Regions from separate parts of the Homo sapiens genome. Here region 2 is linked to region 1. Evidence: promoter capture Hi-C in human tissues and cell types (Jung and others, 2019). All regions are on one chromosome and are shown on one strand. The core of a region is centred on a gene start or on the middle of the fragment in contact, and the rest is flanking DNA. Distances in the headings are between cores, read along the strand shown. Region 1 holds the start of SCD5 (stearoyl-CoA desaturase 5). Region 2 holds the start of LINC00575 (long intergenic non-protein coding RNA 575).

The links. The method cuts DNA at HindIII sites, captures the fragments that hold promoters and counts their contacts. A contact is called where the count stands out against the background at its distance.
Region 2: a contact is called between a fragment that was not itself captured here and the fragment with the promoter of SCD5 in region 1, in 2 of the 25 tissues and cell types used here (dorsolateral prefrontal cortex and spleen).

What each region holds. Positions count from the first base shown.
Region 1 is chr4:82,795,146-82,802,225 of GRCh38, forward strand. SCD5 (stearoyl-CoA desaturase 5) reads right to left here and starts at 3,651. Exons shown (of 5, transcript NM_001037582.3): 1 at 3,161-3,651. The coding sequence starts at 3,392. RefSeq lists enhancers at 1,877-2,398, 3,375-4,092, 4,093-4,809 and silencers at 3,207-3,256, 3,587-4,006. The HindIII fragment of the contact is 23,697 bases long and covers 1-7,080 here.
Region 2 is chr4:82,615,229-82,622,308 of GRCh38, forward strand. LINC00575 (long intergenic non-protein coding RNA 575) reads right to left here and starts at 6,209. Exons shown (of 4, transcript NR_024088.1): 1 at 5,984-6,209. The HindIII fragment of the contact is 5,001 bases long and covers 1,746-6,746 here.

The sequences.
Region 1 (7,080 bases), core at 2,401-4,900:
CACAAATTACTCTCTGCACACTGCACATCCAACACATCCCCTGCTGGGTGCACTGCATAGATGCCTCTTGTTTCCAGCACAACCTCATCTGGTGTGGAGGGTGGCAAGCAATGGACAGGCTAAGCCTATTTCCTCTACAAGTCAGGTCCTTGAAGTGCATGAGCAGCCCACTGGGGCATGAACTTGGCCCTAATGCTACACATAACCAGTAGGGAGGTGGTGAAAAAGGGCCTTCAGTGGGGGGAAATTTGTGGATCAAGGCACCAGGGCTTTCACTGAAAATAACCCTGAGTCAGTGGTCTGCCTCGTCCCTCTGCTTACTATGTAGCCTAGCCATCAGCACAGCTGATCTTAGCTGGTCTCTGATTGTCCCTCATTTCTTCCCTCAAAAGCTATTCATGAGACTGGGTACAGTGGCTCACGCCTGTAATCCCAGTACTTTGGGAGGACTGCTTGAGCCCAGGAATTCAAGACCGGCCTGGGCAACATGGTGAGACCCCCATCTCTACAAAAAAATGAAAAAGAAAATAGCCAGGTGTGGTGGTGCACACCTGTAGTCCCAGCTACTTGGGAGGCTGCGGTGGGAGCATTGCTTGAGCCCAGGAGACTGAGACTGCAGTGAGCTATGATCGTGCCACTGCACTCCAGCAAGACCCTGTCTCACAAAAAAAAAAAAAAAAAAAAAAAAAAGCAGCAGAGGCAGTAGCTATTCATCAGATAAGACCCATTGTTTGGACTGTTTCTAAGTCACAATTTTGGACCTTAAAACTCTAATATCTACCATTGTCTGCTATTTTTTTTTTTAGGGAGGCAATGAAGGTGGGGAGAGAATTAAGACTTACGGGCCGGGCGCAGTGGCTCACGCCTGTAATTCCAGCAGTTTAGGAGGCTGAGGTGGGTGGATCACGAGGTCAGGAGATTGAGACCATCCTGGCTAACACGGTGAAACCCCATCTCTACTAAAAATACAAAAAATTAGCCGGGCGTGGTGGCGGGCACCTGTAATCCCAACTACTTGGGAGGCTGAAGCAGGAGAATGGTGTGAACCCAGGAGGCGGAGCTTGCGGTGAGCCGAGATCGCACCACTGCACTCCAGCCTGGGCGACAGAGCGAGACTCTGTCTCAAAAAAAAAAAAAAGACTTAGGAAATAGCAGATGAAGCACAGGCAGAATTTATCCAGGAAGGTATGGAATGGGGTTTGGGACATGAGTCACAAAGGGGAAACCAGATTCCTTCAGTGTGTTAACTTCTCTAAGGAAGCTAGAGGACACTGGGGCCTGGGAGGTGTCCTCTAAGCCAAGATCTTTCAGAACAAAGGTTCTATCTTCACCACAGAGAGCGGTCCGGAAAGGGCAGAGGTGACCTGGCAAACTTGGAGAGAGGGGCCTTGTCCTTGTGGCTCCTGGTCCAGTGCCAGGGTCTTGGGGCTCAGAGGCTGTAAGAAGTGGAGCCAGTGAGCCCTAGGCATGTAAGATAATATTTTAAGTGCTCACTTTTCCCTGAGCACTCTCTGAACACCACAGCTATTAAAGATAAGCCTCAATCCCCTAGAGGTCACCAGGCTCTGAGGACCAAGCCCAGCCCTGCCTCTGGAAGCAGGGGGGAGAGAGGAGCTTGTTGGAGAACTCTGGGCAATAAGGGCTTTGGTTGGCAGTGTCGGAGTGTGTTGATGAAGCAACAGCTGAACATCATACAGTCTACAGTCAGTTGGAGAATTAAACCAACACATAAAGGTGATGGTGAAAAGGACACAGAAATGAGGAGGTGCACTGAGAGAAGGAAAGATGAAGCAGGAGATTTCCCAGAGCTTTGGGGAGACTTTAAAGGCTTTAGGGATCCCCAAAGATCCTACCTCTCTCACCATCCGTCAACTCTGCTATGCCCTCCCTGAGCCACACCCCCTAAGAGGTACCCACTTCTGGATGGGTTTACTTCCAAGAGCAGGGACTGCAGGATTTCAAGGGAAGGCTTGGAACCATAGTGGCCCCATTATCTACCTAGGCATTTGCAGCTGGCACCATGCCAAAAAAGCCCTGTAGAAAGAGGTCTTATTTTCTTCCTTCCTCTTCCCCTCTGGAAATAAAAGTAGGTTGTGTTTCTCCTGCCCGCCCCTAGAGATCAGGGAAACGGGAGCTGGAAGGGCATCTTGGATTACCTCGTCAAATTCTCACTCAGCATATCAATGCCTGTGCCTTTTGTCCTGGCTACTGCCGCTTCAGTAAAGGAGGCCAAAACCAGTTATTGCGGCCAGGGCGGCTGCGAAGTGGTTCAAAGATCAACGACTGGGGTCGTGTAGGGTGGGCACGCAGTCCCTGGGGCCCAGGGGAAGGGGAATGGTGGTCGGCGCCCGGGCTCCCTTCCCTACTGGCAGGAGTGGGGGTGCACGGAAGGAGGGTACCAGGAGAGCCACAGGTTCCCACTGGCCACATGGGAACAGGGTTTGGAGAAGGCTCTGCACAGCCACAGTCGGAGCTTCGTGCTAGGGTCAGACCGCTCTCGCCATGGGATCGGTTTGCTCACCGAGAAACTTCACCGAGAACTGCAAATGGGCATAGAAGATTGCGGAGGGGGCAGGGACAGGGGCCTTGGAGAGGCAAGAGGGGAACCGGTATCTTCCATCTGGTGCGCGTAAACCAAGACTCTATCCTGTGCCGGGTCTCTCCTCCCCGGTCCAACTCCCTTACTTGTCCTCATCTCTGTCCCCAAGGTCCGTGACCCGCGGAGGTGATGGGGGGGATAGGAGAGCCCCAGGGACCGCAGAGGTGACACAATCGCCCGCCCGTCCTCCCTCGCTGGGAGCCGATTCAGCCTGTGCCGAGCCTCTCCCTTCGCGCGCCTCTGCGCACAGCGGTGGCACCGCAGGACTCCGGGTCCCCCCCGGCTCTCCATCGGGAAGCCGGCAAATGCGCTTCCTCAGGCAGACCGCGGCGGGGTGGGGGCGGGGGGGGGGCGGAAGTTGAAATACTGGGACAGAAACACCTGCCCGTCCCAAGGGACGGAAAACTGGATGCCAAGGGGGCCGCGGCGCGCAGCGGGAGGCGAGGGGAGACCGGGGGTCGCTGCGCACCGCCCGCAGCCGAGGGGCGAGCGGCGACCTCGCGCGCCCCAGCGCGGCCTGGCCACGGAGGCCGGGGCGCAGGGGGCGCCGGCGGGACTTACCCCAGAGCAGAGTGAGTGGCTTGGCTTTGGGGATGAGCACCAGGGAGTACACGGCCCCCAAGTGGAGCAAGCTCATCAGGACGACATTCCTCCAGACGATGTTCTGCCGCTGCCCGCGCGCGCCTGGCCTCTCCGGGCCGCCGCCGCCCTCAGAGCTTTCGAGCCCGGCACGGATTTCTTCCTTGGCGTCGCAGAAAGGGATCTTCCCCGCGTCGGTGGCCGGGCCTGGCATGGCTGGGCGAGGTGGGCGCCCGCAGCAGCGGCAGGCAGGCAGGCGCTCTGCCCGAGCGGAGCTCGAGGGTGGGGGCGGGGGCTTCTGCCTTTTAGGGGGGAATTCTCCGCACGTCCAGTCCCCTCCTTCCAGCCCTTCTCCCGGGCTCCTGCGCTCTTCCCCAGGGTCTTAGCGTGGCCTAGGGATGCAGATCTTGGCGGCCGGCGTCTGTTGCTGGCGTATCCCCCATATGGCTGCCCGGGCTGAACTCGGCCGCGAGAAAGAGGAGGCGCGCGCGGGGCGGGAGGGGCGCGCGGCCGGGGAGGAGGAGCTGTGAAAATGGAACGGGGCCGGCGACGCTGGAGGGAGCGCTCCGAAGGAGCGCGGAAGAAAGCCCTGCTTAGCTACAGCCAATCAGGAGCGCCCGTGCGGCGCTTATAGACAAAGGCGCCCCCCTTTCGGCTTTTCGGGGCCGAACTGGGGAGCCCGCTGGGCGGGAGTTGGCCGCCTCCGCCCGGGGGCGGGTGGAAGGTGGCTCCCGGGGCAGGGAGCCTGCAGGGCGGCTCACAGCGCTTCTGCTCTTGTGTGTGTGTGACCCCCAAAATGCCTTTTATGGTATTTTTCCAGTCCCCCCCCCAAAAAAAAACTTCCCGAAACTGTCATCCCTTTGAGAAGCCTTTTATTTCTTCTCAAGCCTCAGGCCACCTGGGTTGGAGAATTTTAAATACTTGCTTGGAGTCGCGACCCTAGTTAAGGCCAGACCCACGATGAGAATCAGAAGTCCCTCAATCTGCCAGTTAGTAGGGCTCCTCGGGCCAGGGGAGGGTTGGAAGGCAGCTGCTCGTTCTTAATTAGGCAGCTGTGGATTACCCAGGCACACAGTAAGTGCTCAGTTGGTGCTTGTGAGGTGATGCACAGATGATTTGGGCCAGTTCGCTGCCCACCCTTTGCCCATCCGCCGCGCCACTCTGTTTATGGTCAATTCTAGCTAATCAGCGCACTTCTGCAACGCCTCCTTAGCTCTCAGTGAGGAACACTACCCTGAAATCAACACCATTGAGAATCGGGCTTTACAAAAAAATCACCCAGAATGTTCCAAGGAAAATTAACCTGTGAAAGATTTGTGTCTGCCCACTTCTCTCCTAGAGCTGATGGCTTAAGAGCTCTCCAGAGAGGACCCTAGTTGCACAGAAAATGGAGGGAGGATTGAGCTGGAAGTGTCTGAAGCAGGTGTGACCGCAATTGCGGGCAGGCAGCAGAAGTAAAAGGGCTCGGGACAGCATCTCTGAGTTCTAGTTTTAACTGGCTGGAACCCAGCCCAACTCTCTGGGCACGGATTTCCTTACCTGAGAAGCAGAACTAGTTTCTACTCTTCCTTCCAGCTTCCATATTCCATGAATGTGAGTTCGAAGGGGCGCCATTATATTGACCAAAACCAGCTGATTTTTAGATTAACCGTTGTTAGGAATCATTTCCAGGATTTCAAGAGAGGCAAAAAAATTTAAAAGACTGACTGCATGAAAGGGCCATGCATAAGCATCTTATTGTTAGCAGACCTGAGCCAGTCCTAGCAGCCAGACAAAACAATGCCTGATTTAAGCTAAAGCAAGGTATGTGGCACTTGTGGAATCTAGGCCACTGAGTCAGTGTTACTGTGTTGCTTCAGACGGAGCTGAAATTATAGAATTTGCCTGGAGACCAGATAAATGTCGGCCCTATATAATGACCAGTCAGACAGTGGAACATGAAGCTGGAGGGTGCGATTTTCATCTGTCTGTTCAACCTGGGCTATGTAATGAACCACGTTTTCTTCTCATGCTCCCTCTGCTCCCCATACCCAGCAGACCTTCCTACTCCCTGTGGCTCTCTAGTTCAGACTGTCCTTTCTCTCTGGGGTAGACTAGTTGCTCGGCCAAAAGCCTCTCTCCGGGTTATTGGAAAGGCTCAATGCTGTAAAGACCCTCATTCTAAACATTCAGTCATTTATTTGGCATTTATTGGGCATCTGCTATGTGCCAGGACCAGTGGGCACAGGGGATCCAAGGATGAATAAAGTCTGGTCCCGCCCCTAAAGGAGCTCCCATCTAGAAGCAAAGATGGAGCAAACAAATGTAACCTCTTGACTATGACCTTGGAAGGGCAGAAAGTTACAGTCCATTATCGGAAAAAAAAATTTAATTAGGTATCAAACTTACATACAAGGAGTCTAAGGGAAGCAAAAATAGTTCCTTATTGTCCCCCCTGAGAACCTTATTAGGTCAGCTGTTCTATCTTGAATCCATCTTTTGTTTGTTTGTTTGTTTTTGTTTTTGAGACGGAGTCTCGCTCTGTTGCCCAGGCTGGTGTGCAGAGGCCTGATCTCGGCTCACTGCAAGATCTGCCTCCCGGGTTCACGCCATTCTCCTGCCTCAGCCTCCCGAGTAGCTGGGACTACAGGTGCCCGCCACCACGCCCGGCTATTTTTTTTTTTTTTTTTTTTTTTGTATTTTTAGTAGAGACGGGGGTTTCACTGCGTTAGCCAGGATGGTCTCGATCTCCTGACCTTGTGATCCGCCAGCCTTGGCCTCCCAAAGTGGTGGGATTGCAGGCGTGAGCCACTGTGCCCGGCCCTTGAATCCATCTTGAATGAACATCTTTCTCTTTTCCCTCCTGTGGGTCAGACCAGGTATGACCAGTCATTTCAGCTGGCTGTCCTCATAATGGAGAAGATGTTTTTGTGTGTTGAGGGAGGAAAGAAGTGTTACTTAGGTTTGTCAGAGCCTGCCTATAAAAGGATTGTTGAAGAAAAATGGTCCTTCCAGGTCCAGCCTCAGAGTGAAACATCTACAAGATCCAAGATATATTCTTGCTGATAACGACGGTCCTCTTTAGCCAATTATGCCATAGGGGTCACTGCCTCTTTTCTCTGTCTTGCCAAAGACCCTAGTATATTTTCCTAGCTTCTAGTCAGGACCCCAGGAGTGGATAAGTATTCACCTGTCCCAGGATGGGGCAAATGGGACAGTAACCCTTATCCTGTCAAACACGTAATTACCAAAAATGTAATAAGAGCCATAATGGTGGTATACGCAAGATAATGTAGAGGTGCAAAGGAGGGAGTTGTTAATTCACACAGAAGCAGGGAGGAGGGGGAGTGATACCTGGGGAAGGATTTTTAAAAAATATTTAATTGTGGTAAAATACATGTAACATAAAATGTATGTAACAAAATTTACCACTGTAACCGTTTTTAAATGTACAGTTCAGTAGTGTTAACTATATATGCACATTACTGTGCAACCGATCTGCAGAACTTTATCATTTTGCAAAACTGAAACTTTATGCTCATTAAACTCCCCTTTCAATCTCCATCCAGATGCTGGCAACCACTGTGCTACTTTGTTTCAATTAGTTTGACTACTCTAGATACATCATATAAGTGAAATAATAGAGGATTTGTCTTTCTGTGACTGGCTTATTTCACTTAGAATGTTTTCAAAGCTCATCCAGGTTGTATGTGTTAGAATTCCCTTCCTTTTAAGACTGAATAATATTCTATTGTATGGATATGAATTTTGTTTATCCATTCATCTATCTAACAGTGGACATTTGGGTTGCGCCACCTTTTGGCTACTGGAAATAATGTTGCTGGGAACATGGGTGTACAAAGATCTCTTCAGGACCTGCTTTCAATTCTTTTCGGTATATATATGTATATCCAGAAGTGGTA
Region 2 (7,080 bases), core at 2,996-5,495, 180 kb before region 1:
TGTCCAATGCCATTAATATGCATGTGATACCCAGAGAGTGAAAGATTTATTTCCCATTCAGCTTAACTACACAAACATTTATTCATTAAGCACCTATTTTCTGATACGTTCCATAGCAGGCAGTCAGTGAAATGAGGTATTTGGAAAAATAATTTTGTTTCTAATACAGTAAGAAATTAGTAGTTCGACTTTCCTAGCATGACAACTTTGTATTAATACCTGTGAGTTATTAGGTAGAATATAGAGATGAATGTGACATAGTCAAAAAGCTTGAGGTCTTCTGGAAGAGACAAAATATGTGTTTATTCATTCAATAAATATTTATTGAGCATTTATTATGTACCTCCCACATTTTGCTCCAGCCGTCATTCCCTTGTCATTCCCTGAGCCCATTGCACTGTTGCATCTGCCTGCTGTTACCCTTCCTGAGAGAGTGAAAGAAGTAGGAGCAAATGGACTAGTTAATGAAGCAAGGACCTGGAGCAAATAGGATGCAGGCAATCAAGGACACAGGCAGGAAGGCAAGAGAGCCTCTGCTGAGACTGTAGGAGAGGTGTGTGGATGATCAGGGATGTAGGTAAAACACGGTGGTGGTAGAAGGGCCACATGTGGAACACAGAGGGAGCATTGGATCTGGGCCAGTTCTGCCCAACACGGCATTCCTCTAATGGGACATTTTGGCTCAGGGACTCTCCAGAGACCTGACTGAGATTTTCTTGAACTTCTGCTGAGGTCTGAGGCTCTTCCCATTCAATCCCTCCTTCCCTTCCCGCTCTCCTTCCGCAGAGGTAGACCTGCACCATGGTTAAAGCCTTCTCCTAATTACCCCTGCTCCCTCGCCCTTTGTCCTCACAGGCATTTCCCTCAACAAACCTCTTGAACATAGAGTTCCTGCTTGGTGTCTGCCTCTCAGGGGACCCAAATGGATACCACATCTTATAAGTGGGGGAAAATGGAAGGCTGAAGGGACTCAGTGTGGTTTCTCCATGTGATGGAAGAATAGACGTACAGGGAATGAGAGCACGGGAATTGCAAGGGTTGGCGGCGAGGGCTGGAGAGCAGATTAGACAGATCAGGATGTAAAAGGGTTTCGGGGAGCAGAGTTCAGAGAATGGCTGTAGGAATAGGTTGCTGGAGGAGAGACGAAGGTCAATGACACTGGTCTGGAACTACCATGCAGTAATATTAGTTGCCTGTTCATTACTAATAGAACCCTGCTTTTATTCAGAACAGCAGCGGACCCAGCTGACAATTCTCAGCTTTCTTTGCAGTTAGGGGTGGCCAAGTATGTGTAAGTAAAAATCACTGGCTAGGGAAGGGGGGGGACACAAGGAAAAAAAGTGAGCAGTCACCTAGAAGGTGTGCCCATTTGCCATTTCTTCTCCTTTCTTCTTCCAGCCTTTCAGCCAGTTTGGACCATGAACCACTTTAAGGATGGAAACCAAGGCTAGGATGATGGAGCAAAAAGACAGGGGTCCTTAAACAACATGGAGTCACCATTCTAGCCCTGATTCGACTATATGAGAGGGTTTGTATTATTTAAGCCACTTTGCTGGGTATTTCATGTACAGTCAAACCAATTCTAACTGGTAGAGATAAATTGTTCATACAGACATAACTATCTCCTGGAGGTTGAGGTAGACAGAATGTATATAAGTCAGATGGAAAGATGCATAGTGTCTAAGGGGGAATGTTTTGGAGGCTAAGGGTGAGAGGAACAAGAAGAAAATGGCATGTATGTGAACGTGTACACGTCAGGGGAGGAGGGCCAAAGGGCAGAGGTTCTCGCCTGAGAGTGGAGACGTGCTGGATTGGAAATACCAATGAGAAATGGCCAGTAGGAGAGTATTTATCTCCCCTCACTGGCCCTAATGATTGTGGGGTGATGGAGTGGAGCAGCTTCTATCCTGGAAGGCTGAAATAAAGTGTTTGTTTCCAATGGGAGTTTAGAAACCAATGAAAATGGACAGGGGAGCTCTATTCAGTGAAGGAAAGAGTCAGAGGAAATAAATTACAAAAGAACACTGAGGCGAGCAGAGAGGCGAGGGCGAGTAGGGAGTGGAGCGTTGCCTTTGGGGAGGTGGCTAAAGACTGCAGAGAGCAGAAGTATGGAGGGAATGGCTTGCACCAACGTTTCAGCCCCTGACAGAGCCTCCTGCCGTGTCAGGCCCAGGTTCCATGGGAGGGGAGTGGGGGCGGGGGGGGGGAAGATCAGTGCAGCCTGCAGATTTCCTAAGTTTTTGCTGCTGTTCAGGGACAAATTTGCATAAGGTAGGAATGAGTCCTTGTCACAAATGTGGATCCTGACTCAAATACAGTTACGGTTACAGTTCAGCTCCATCTGAAGGTGAGAAACAAGCTCCCAGGTGAAGGGGCTCAGAGTCTGAAAGCTGCCTGGGCCAAGGTGCCTGGTAATTAGGGTTCGCCTTGCTGTCTGAGGACTGGAGCTGTTTCTGCCCCACTTGGCATTTCCCTATGTTCCCCCCTCAAATCAACAAATCATGACAACTCTAAGGATTTGGGGGTGGGGGACATTAAGTGAAGATCATTAAGTTTCATGTGTTACATGAAAGAACAAAGAACTGATATGAATGGAATGAATCTTAGCATTTTTGAAGTTTGAGAACTTCAAGTTCAGTCATACTTCTCCTTCCCCCATCTTTTTACCTATCCTAAAAATGCTGCATGGACAATAGGACCCAATTTTCTGAACCTCAAAGAAGATATACTATTTGATAATAAGTACATTTTTTGTTAACAGGCCAGCATTTTTGAAATTAGAAGAGCCCTCAAAAACGCAGGCTCTGTCTTCCTACTCTCTATGACATACTCAGTTTTTATAACTAAGTCAGTTTAGTTTTTAGGATTTTGTGGCACCCATCTCATCTTGGTGAGAATTATAAAATTCTCAAGGTTTTGTAAAAATAGATTTGGGAATTACCAACCTAGATATTTCCCAAAAGTGCATTAGACATCCCATGTCCTAAGCCAAGCAATTCACAGCCATCCTGCCTGCAGAGAGCACGCTTCTTAATCTTCTCCTCTTCAGAGCACACATCAGGCCTGGGAAGGCCAGTAAGCCCAGTTCCCAGTGAGTGACAAGTTTGGATTCCAGGGGTTCTGAGTAGACTTTGAACCTTCTCAATACTATTTTTGCCTCACTGCTTCGGTGACTTTGGACATTTTCTTCTGATTGATTAGGATTAAATGTGCTTTTCTAAGCTTCTGTTGAGACATGTGGTTCTCATTACTGTCACTGCTCATTTCCCACAGTCCAGCAGCCTCTCCCCCTTTCTCCAGCATTGCCTGTTATCTCAGGATCCCATTACAAGCCTGGAGGAACTGGCTGGGAGTCTGGATGTGGGTGATGAGGAAGGCTGGTAGGGAAGCCAGGAACCCACAGGAACTATGGTCCAGGAGTTCCATTCTTCTTTGTCCACAAACATAACAGGGCAGCCTGGGAGGGTTCAGGAGAGTCTTCTCCCCAAGTCAATATGTTAACCCATGTGGAATTTCACTAAATGAATGTCAAGGTGCATCAGTCAGGGGCCTGATGGGAAAGACGGTACCATCGAATTGGGTGATTTGAGTAGAGTTTAATCAAACCATGTGCTAGCTGGATTCTCTGGGAAGTAGATGCTGGGATGCAGTTAGGAGTGTGGAGTTAGTTAGAAGTTAGGATTTATTAGGGGTTATGTCTATGGAAGATAAAAGAAGCAGGAAGTAGGAATGAACAGGGAAAACCTTCAGTCTTGATGCAAATCACCTGTAATAAAAAAGAAGGGTCAAAGCAGGACTGGGCCAGGGAAGCTCAGAGCATGAGTCTGATCTGACTGAGTCTTAACCAACCCAGTCAGGAGCAGGAGCAAAGACAGCCAGTTAGAGGAGTCTCTGTTGTCACACAGAAATGGTCAGGACCCCCGGCCCTTGTATCCCCATCATATTCAGTCATTAGCTGGGGCTGTTCGGAAAGAGCGTGGCAAGCAGCAGCAGCAGCAGCAGCAGCAAGAACAACCATAAAATTGATCTTGAAGGTTGAAGGCAGTCAATTCACTGCAGCCTTGCAGCTGAATGGCAAGTTCTTTCATGCAAGAAGATCTGAGAGGTGCACCTCCATGGCTGCCACGTGGGATCCTCCCGAATGCACAGGTAGCGGGTAGAGCACCCACAGCCACAGAGCAGACTAGGAAGAGAGGGGCCCCACTGACCTCATCAGCCCTGAGTACAGACTGTCAGGTGGGGATGCAGCCTCCCTGAAGGGAGGGAGTCGGGGAGTAAGCACCTGCGCCTCACCCTCCTCCCTCCATCCTGCCAATGCTCCCCATTCTTCATCCGGAACAGCTTGTTGGTATAATGCATGCCCATCAGCCTCCCAGGGTGTTCAGCAGGGTGGAGGGGCTCAGCAAACACAGGCGGCACACCAGGGCAGCCTTGGAGAAGGAGCAAAGTCTCCCAGGGAGAGAGAATCCAGTGGTGGGGAAGGCCTGAGACAGGCAGAGATGTTTCTTTGTCTTGTCAAGCTTCTCCCCAGCTGTCTGCACCCCAGAGTCACTGCCCAGCTAACAAAGGATCTCTCTCCACCCGTCAGTAGCTCCACTGCCAAATCAGGGGCCTTAGGAATGAGTGCAGAGACAGACAGACAGAGAGAGAAAGAGAGAGAGAGAGAGAGAGAGAGAGAGAGAGAGAGAGAGAGAGAGAGAGAGAAGAGGAGAGGAGGGGAGAGGAGGGAAGGGGGAAAGGTAGGAGACACTTCAGAAACGGAGTGCCCACTCGCATACACCACACACATGCACACACACCACATTCTACTTTCCTGGGCCTTATACATGAGGGTGAGAGGTGACACAGGGACCAGAGTCTGAATCCAGCAGCATTCCTGAGGCTCCTTATGCACCTGCCTATGCAGCCCAAACTTCCCAGAACTGCCCCTCTTTCAGGGTCTTGATTATTGATTTGCAGAGTGGCCTGTGGCTATCCTTGCATGTGACCCTTAGGTCTCACCACTTCTGTCAGAGGACTCCTCTCTGATGGCAGCTCACTTTCTCCAGCTGCCTGTAGGCATTTATCTTGTGATGCTGTTTCACAGCCATTCACAGCCACAGGAAACATTAGTTCTGCTTCCGAGGAATGGACAATGCTGGGCAAATTACTTTTTGCAGCGAGCAGTTAAGATAATTTTTTAGTGATACGAACAGGACTCAGCCGATGGTGTTCAAAACAGTCCTGCTGGAGCTGAACTGGGAGCCGGCAGATGGCTTCTCTCCTAACTCAGTTTGACTGAGTGAGACATTTGATTTGAGCTTCTATTAAAGAGGTAGAATGTATTAAATTGTTTTGATGATGGTTGGCCTTTTTTCAGTGAAAGAATGTAACTTTTTTTGTCTATAAAAGAGTACACATGGACCATTTCCCTCTTCTACCCCCTATTCAGTAAGGCCCAGGCCAATTTCTTAAGTGAAGGCTCAGGACTTACTAAGTCACTTATTTTTCTACAACGTTTGCAAAAGTAATTGCTGAAAAATGTCCAAATGACGTGAGTGTATTTGGACAATGAGAAGGGAGATGGGTTTCCTTCCTAAGGGTCAGAAACTATACCCATCTCCCTGCTAGGTTCGGTCCCCTGACTTCACCACAGTGGGAGCTAAGTGAATTCTTGTTGATTGTTAAAAGGAAAGGCAAATAATTTTCCAGTGTTGTTTTCTGTTGGGACACTGACGTGATGCTGATCTGTAAGGCAGCTCTCTCTGTGGAATCACCACCACCTCGCATCCAGGGAGAATTAATTCAGGGCACAATGGAGACAGAGACCCAGCCGAGATGACAATTACAGGGTGGCGGAGTGGGTGGGGCGGAGGGGAAAGAGCAGGAGGCAGCGTTTGCTTTTGCCTTCTGATAGTCTCGCCTGGAACTTGGACACTTCTATATTATCCTTCTAGTCTGTAAAACAGTAGAAGGGAGTCTAAAGGAAGACATTTCCACTTACCTGTCTAAATCGGTTTGCTAAGGACTGCTGTAATAGAGATCACCAACTGAGTGGCTGAAACAACACAGATGTATTTCCTCCCAGTTCTGAGGATGAGAGATCATGCTGTCGGCAAGACTGGTTTCTTCTGAGGCCTTTCCCTTGGCTTGTAAATGGCTGCCTTATCCCAGGGACTTCATGCATTCTTCCCTGTGTGTGTATCTGTACCCTAATCTCCTTTTCTTGTGAGGTCACCTGTCAGATTGGATTAGCGCCCATCCTAATGAACTCTTTTTAACTTAATTACCTCTTTGAAGACCTTATCTCTAGTCACATTCTGAGGTACTAGAGGGTTAGGACTTCAGCATAAGAATTTGAGGGGACAAAATCCAGCCCATAACATTGCCATTGCCTGTTTCACTCCTTAGCCGAGTCTTTTGCTTGTGGCCTAGTGGTTGACCTAGTGGCAGGGAGGCGCAGCCTTCTAACTCTGACCGTCTGGAAATGGCTCTGTGATTGCACAGTCCTGGCAGTCAGCTGTATCTTGCATCCTATGGCACATGTTCTTCATAAAAGTTACATGAAGACTTTAAAGTTAAGGCATGTTTTCAAGGCCTGCTTATGAAAGGAAACCCGTAATAAATACTTTGTAAAATTCAGAATTGTCTTCTAATTTATTTACTTTTGTAAGTTCAGATTTCTGGGTCAACAATTTTCTTTTCTTTTCTTTTCTTTTTTTTTTTTTGAGATGGAGTTTCACTCTTGTTGCCCAGGCTGGAGTGCAATGGCACAATCTCGACTCACCGCAACCTCTGCCTCCCAGGTTCAAGCGATTCTCCTGCCTCAGCATCCTGAGTAGCTGGGATTACAGATACGAGCCGCCACGCCTGGCTAATTTTGTATTTTTAGTAGAGATGGGGTTTCTCCAGGTTGGTGAGGCTGGTCTCGAACTCCCAACTTCAGGTGATCTGCCCTCCTTGGCCTCCCAAAGTGCTGGGATTACAGGCGTGAGCCACCGTGCCAGGCTTGGGTCAACAATTTTCCAAGAGAAGGGCCTATCCATATTCATAAACGCCAACAGTTCAGCAAAAATTTTGGAGGTCTTGCTACATGGTAAG